Regions from separate parts of the Homo sapiens genome. Here region 2 is linked to region 1. The links are contacts of gene promoters, found by promoter capture Hi-C in human tissues and cell types (Jung and others, 2019). All regions are on one chromosome and are shown on one strand. Each heading gives the region's core, a stretch centred on a gene start or on the middle of the fragment in contact. The rest is flanking DNA. Distances are from core to core; before and after follow the strand shown.

Evidence for each region. The method cuts DNA at HindIII sites, captures the fragments that hold promoters and counts their contacts. A contact is called where the count stands out against the background at its distance.
Region 2: a contact is called between a fragment that was not itself captured here and the fragment with the promoter of CCBE1 in region 1, in 5 of the 25 tissues and cell types used here (IMR-90 fibroblasts, adrenal gland, bladder and 2 more).

Annotation. Positions count from the first base shown.
Region 1 is chr18:59,695,638-59,698,896 of GRCh38, forward strand. CCBE1 (collagen and calcium binding EGF domains 1) reads right to left here and starts at 1,786. Exons shown (of 11, transcript NM_133459.4): 1 at 1,575-1,786; 2 at 992-1,072. The coding sequence starts at 1,705. The HindIII fragment of the contact is 11,314 bases long and covers 1-3,259 here.
Region 2 is chr18:59,649,497-59,652,755 of GRCh38, forward strand. All of the region lies in intron 2 of CCBE1 (collagen and calcium binding EGF domains 1), which reads right to left. Among named protein-coding and RNA genes, the nearest start is that of CCBE1, 46 kb to the right of the region's middle. The HindIII fragment of the contact is 5,358 bases long and covers 1-3,259 here.

The DNA of each region.
Region 1 (3,259 bases), core at 536-3,035:
CGCTATGATTGATTCACAGGCTACAACCTTATAAGGAATAAAACATTGTTTTCTTTCAAGTTCGTTTCTAGGGACTGCTGCGTTACCTTGTACTACTCAGTATTTATCCTGGCAACCCGAACAGAGCATGTGAGTCTCCAGAGACAGTCAGGTGTGGGCATATGATCACATTACCTTGTACAGCGCCTCTAAAACGCAGATATCCAATAAACGTTTATGGGTGCATGTTCCCCTATCCAGTGAGAGCACTGGAACAGAACCAAGAATTCAATGGTGAAAAACCTAAATCAACCCTCATCTCCAAAAGGCTGCAAGCAGAACAGTGGTTCTCTCCTTTCAGAGACAAGAACCACCTGGGGAACATTTTATAACTACCGATTCCCTAGCCCCATCCACGCTTAGTTTTAACAAGCACCCGGGTCACTCATTTAACAAATACCCAGGTGAATCTGTGGCCCACATTTTTAGAAAGACTTTTTTCCTCTGCCCCAACAATCTTTTTGTTTTCACTCAACACAACCACTCACAATCCTCCCCCTACTTTTTTGTCCAGAGGCCGTGACAGCCACACTCTGCCCCAACAGAAGGTCAGAAGACAGACAAGTGCCAAGAATTGCCTTGTTGACGCTGTACTTTCAAAACAAAACACAAATACGAAAGCAGCCACCCGTGTTTGCTATGCCCCACTGTTTACACCCAAAATCCAATCCAATCTCCTTCACAGACTTCCACACAAGTATTTCAGGGAGCGGCAACCATCCTCAGGATCTCAGGGCACACACCCTAGACGCAAAGTCAGTTGCTCAGTGTTGCTCTGACTCCGATCCAACCAACCCTCAAAGATTCGCACCGCGCGGCACGCACCCAGCAGGTTCCAGCGTAAAAGCTGCTCCGGTCCCAAGCGCGTCTCCAAACCCCTCCTTTACAGCGCCGCCTCCCCAGCCAGCCCCGGTGCGCAGTGGCGAACAGCCCGCAGAGCCCCCAGGCTTACCTGTAGCATGTGGTGAGCTCGCCTGAAGACTTCAGACACGGGTATTTAGTCGTCGCGATTTTGCTCTCTGAGCAGATTTCTCTATGAAAAAGTGCAGAGGAAATGTTCGATTCTCAGCGGGAGAGCGGAGGCGGGCAGCGCGCGCTGGGGAATCCCTGGCGCGTGGGGATCGCCAGGCTCCCCGTCCCGGCGCTCTGGGCAGGGGCTGGTCCCCAAACGCGTACGCGGGGCAGACTCCGGCCACAGGGACGAGCCACGCGAGGGTCACGACGAAGCGAACCAGCTCCAGGAGAAAGGAAGCGGGGTTCACGAGCTGTGCCAGCCAGTGTGGCACCCGGGGGGAGGCAGGAACGCGGGGCGAAGGGTATCCCTGACGCGACCCACGGATGGCAGGGCGCAAAGGCTGATACCCGGGAGCGGAGGGAAGTGTCGCCCAGGACAGCTGAGCACTCTCCTTATCCCCGGAGAAGTGAGGGCGTGCGGATCGCTGTGGGAGTGGGCGCCGGGGAGGACCGCCCGCACCCCGCGAGCCGGGCGCGCATCAAGCAGGAGCTCGCCCTCCGCTGGGGCTTGCAGCGCTTACCTGTCGCCGTCCTCCGGCTCCTCTCTGTAGGTCCACGTGTGTCCCAACGCCAGGAGCAGCAGCAGCGGACCCAGGCTCCTGCCCAGCTGGCCCCTGGCAGCTCCTCCCCGGCTCGGAGGCGGCGGCACCATCAGGGAAGCTCCCGGCTTCTTCCCAGCGCCGAGCTCCGTCCGGACCAAGCGTCCTGCTCCTCCGCGGCCGCCGCCGCCTTCCCTCTTCCCGGCAGGGGGCGCCGGAGAGCAGGGGCGTTTGCACCACCTGCACGGGGAGCAGGGGTCCGGAATATTATGGGGCTGGGGGGAAAATGAGGCTAGGAGTTGGGGTATCGGATGCAAACCCAGCAGAGAAGCAGGTAAAGGGGGTACCTGCGGTGTCCGGCTGGCGCGAGGGCCCTGAGGTTCAAGTTGTCTCGTCGGGACGTTCACGTCCGATTGACAGACTTGCTGGACTCGGCTTGGGGCTGCGCCCTCGCCTCTTCCCTCTCCCTCCTCTGGGAGAAGCGCGCAGGGTGGGGAAAGCGGGCGGTTGTTTGCATTTTGCACCAGGGTCTCACGACCGGGAGGAGGAGGAGCTGATTCTCCACCGGGGAGAAGAGGGAGGGGGAAGAGAGGGGTTAATAAGCTTCCTTCCTGTTGTCCATGGGTTTCTAAAGCCCAGGGTCAGGCCAGTGTTCGTCTTTCCTCCGTGAGGACCTACCCTGAGATTTGCAACTATCTTAGTCTTCTTTTCTCTTAGATTATGTGAGGAAGGAGGAGTTGAAAGGCTACAACGGGCCTCTCAAATTGTTCAAACCTGAAATAGCGCTATTTATATAGTGTAATCACTCTTCCTTAAAACCTTTAGAAGAAAGTTCTCTGGTTGTTTCATTGGTCAATAAACCATGCGCTGTCTTCTTCATAACTCGAGTTCGGAACAAGTAAGGAGGTCTTTCTGGGAGCCTTACATCTCCTTGTCCTGAGCGGCTTTAATACTGTTTCCACGCCGCGCACATCAGAGCTGGAAACGCCCCCCCCCATCAAATGAGACACGTGGGGGCAAATTAATTACAGGTGCTGCTACCTGCTAGTGTATGCAGCCGCGTTGATAGGTAACAAGAAAACGGAGGAGGGGGGCCGTAAATCGGCTCCCTTGACGGTGACCCTAATTGTAATTCGTGTGTCAGCAACTTAACACTTTGTTGCGCTTTAGGAGTTTTCTCAGCCTTTTCCAGAGAAACTGGGGACGTGGATGTGGCCCAGAAATAAGTTGAAAAAGGAAAAGTTCTAATGCCTAAGCTCTAAAATATGCGTGGTTCTGCATCTCACAGGACAACGAGGTAAAAAGGTGGCTTGTTCACAAGTGACCGGTGTGTAAATTGGTTAGGTAAGCACATATTTTGATATACAGAATATGCTGGTCAACTGAGAATTACCACACATATCACATACACATTGACTTTTTTTTTTTTTTGAGACGGAGTCTCACTCTGTCGCCCAGGCTGGAGTGCAGTGTCTCGATCTTGGCTCACTGCAACCTCCGCCTGCCGGGTTCAAGAGATTCTTCTGCCTCAGCACCCCAAGTAGCAGGGATTACAGATGCATGCTTCCACACCCGGCTAATTTTTGTATTTTTAGTAGAGACAGAGTTTCACCATGTTGGCCAGGCTGCTCTTAAACTCCTGGCCTCAAGTGATCTGCCCAACTCGG
Region 2 (3,259 bases), core at 567-3,066, 46 kb before region 1:
ACAGACAGACATTTACACAGATCAACTACATCATTCTCACAGCCAGTGTTACAGATGCAGAAATAGCCTCAGAGATGTCAAGGCAAGGACCCTCTGCCTACACTTTAGCAAGGGACAGAATGTGGATTCCCATTCCTCATTCTTGCTGAATCCAAAGCCCATGCTCTTTCAAATGTAACATCTTGCCATCTCAGGCTGCTGTTGGACTGTAATAGTAACCTATGCCCTTTTCATTCCTGTCTCACAACACAAAAGTAAAAGTGGGGGTGGATGAATGCAAGCAGCCCACATGCTCCAGCACTCACAGAGCTCATGTTACGGGCTGGGGCCATCCCAGTTTAGGTGCTGACACTCCAAGAGTCACTAGGCTGGGGCTCTGGCCTGGAGCTCTGAGCCTTGGGGTCCCACTGACCAGAAATGACCATGGAAGAGCATCTTCAAGGGGCACATGGGAAAGGAGGGAGGGGTCCCAGACAGGCCTTCCCCACTTGTTTTAGTGGCACTTGGGGGTGGGGGAGCACAGGTGAGCCATCTCCACCCAGCTGGGAGCCACCCTCCAAAGTCCGCTCTCCTTCCTCCACTTGGTTCCCAGCTTCAAGGCCACAGGTGTGACTTCAAATATGGCAGAATCCACAGACAGAACTAATTTTCAGAAGCTTCTGCTCACAGAACCATAATTATTCTCAGAATCATAAGAGGGAACTGTTTCTTTTAAAAATAAATAAACAGATATACAGCACTAAGGCAGTTTCCATTGTCCACCCCTGCCCAGATACAAAGTCAGGTGAGATGGGAGAGACCAAGCCCAGCACACCCAAAAAGCAGCATCCAAGCTCTCCACTCCAAGCAGAAGAGGCTCCAGACCTCTAGAGTGACCCCCTTCCTCCCTAGGTTCCTCCATGTAATGACATTTAGCCTCCTGTTCCCTTCAGCTTTTCACGATCCCATGGGAAACTCCCAACGTGACTGGGTTCAGAAAGTCTGGCGCGTTAAAAGGTACCTAATCCTGTTAGTGTGCGGGATAATCGTTTCAGAGAAGACCTCAGCACCAGCTTATACTAAGTGCAATTTCCTCTGAAGTTATTATCCCAGCCGGAATTTGAATTGTAAAGTATTTCTGATGCCCTGGGAAAGCTCACCACGCATTCCAGAACCGCACTTCTCCCTCTAAGTCTCTCTCTGCTTGGAATTTACAGCCGCCTCTTCTGGTTACCAAACATCTTTATTCATCATGAATTTCTCCACTCTCACTGCCTTGCATGTTGTACTGGAGAACAAGCCCATCCTCCCTACCGATCCTGTACCTGGGCAAGGGGCTCTGAAGTTGGAAATAGGCTTAGTCCTCGGTGGCCAAGCAGAAGCAGGAACAGATGAGTGATAAGGAAACAAAGATTCCTTTCCTGGCCTGTATGCCAGGGAAAATGGAGAGGAACATCATCCACATAGCTTCAAGACAGACAGACTGTGGCATAGCCTGAGAAACTCCATCACTTAGGGGTCAAGGTAAATAGCTGAAGTTTATTAAGAACTAACCTTTTCCTCGCCACAGCCAGCTAATCAACTTGGATATAGGGTGGGATTTCTTAATATCATCCAAAATTGTGATGACTTTTTACCCAATTCCCTTTCTTCAAAGGTATGAATAGAAGCAACAAGCCTAAGCTATAGAAAGATAAGAACCTAGGATCTCACCAATTACAATGTGTTCCAGGGAAAATACGTTCTACTTACTTAGGAAGTGTTCCTTGGCACCATGAAGCAAGTTGACACACATGAGTTGTTGCAGGCACTGGGGTTTCCTGCCCCAGTTCTTGCTGGCATTGGAAAATGAGCGTCCATACCACCGGGTTATGGGAACAAAACCAGGCAATTCTGAATGGAAAACTACCACCACCTTTTTGGGACAGGTTTTTAAACGAGACTGCATGCCAAACGCTGGTTCATCCTCTTGGGCTCAGTTTAGCTCCTTTTTCTGTGAGGGATTAGGCTGGCAGTCATTCACAGAACTAAATCAAGATTTTTCTGCACTATTAGTTTCCTTCTGAGAATCAAAGAATGTGTTAGCTATGGCTCAGCAGACCTTAGCAAGGATCTTTCCTGAGATGGAACGTGATTGACAGGGAATGAGTTAATCTTCTGCAGCTCTAAATATGGCATTTTTCTAGGCAAGACCGTCAGAGAAAAGGACATGCTCCATCTACAAATAAAGTAGAACTAGTGATGTGGCGGTGTGTCTTCAAACTCCAGAGAAAGGCACTGGGCCCCACCTTGTAGTTCATGTAAATATCAGTCCTGGGAAAGGGAAGTGGAAAGCCAGTGCTTTTTGTGAAAGTGTATGTGGTACATGAGAATTTTTTTACACATATACAGTGTGTAGCAATCAAGTCAGTGTATTCAGGGTGTCCATTATCAAGATACAATACATCTTTGTTAAGTATAGTCATCCTGCTCTGCTATCAATCATTGAATTTATTCCTTCTATCTTACTGTATGTTTTTAATCTTTAACCCATTTCTTTTCATCCTTCCCTCTCCCACCCTTCCCAGTCTCTTATTTTTCCACTCTATCATCTGTTCAAATTTTTGTTTAGCTCCTAAATGTGAATGCGAACATGTGATATTTGTCTTTTTGTTCCTGGCTTATTTCATTTAACACAATGACCTCCAGTTTCATCCAAGTTACTGCAAATGGCAGGATTTCATTTTGATGGCTGAATAGTATTCCATTTCACTTACATACTACACCTTTCTTTAAAAATCTCAGCCTTGGAATCGAAGAATCAAGAAAAACTCAGCCAACTCATGGGTTACACAAGTTGAGGATGCCACCTGATTATCAACAGGTACTGCTCATCAATAGCACCGTTGGGACTCTGCCACTTAGGCAGGGACCAGCCTGAGCCCAAAGGTGAATGGGGTAAATTCCTCCAGTTCCTTCGGCATGGTTTGTAGGATCAGTAAAGGTAACACAAACTGACTCCCCCCCTTTTTTTTTAATGTAAACTCCATAGCCTAGAATAAAATACTATAAATTTAAGAAAGCTTAGGTCTATAAAACTAACATTTTATAACAATGAAGAGAAAGAAAGAGGAGAAGCAGCTACCACTGTGAGAGAGCACTCGGAGTCCCGCTCAGACTCAGAGCCAAATGGGAAAGACATTTTTCCCAGCTAAAGAAAGGATTTTCGGCCGGGCGCAGTGGCTCCCGCCTGTAATCCCAGCACTTCGGGAGGCCGAGGCGGGTGGATCATGGGGTCAGG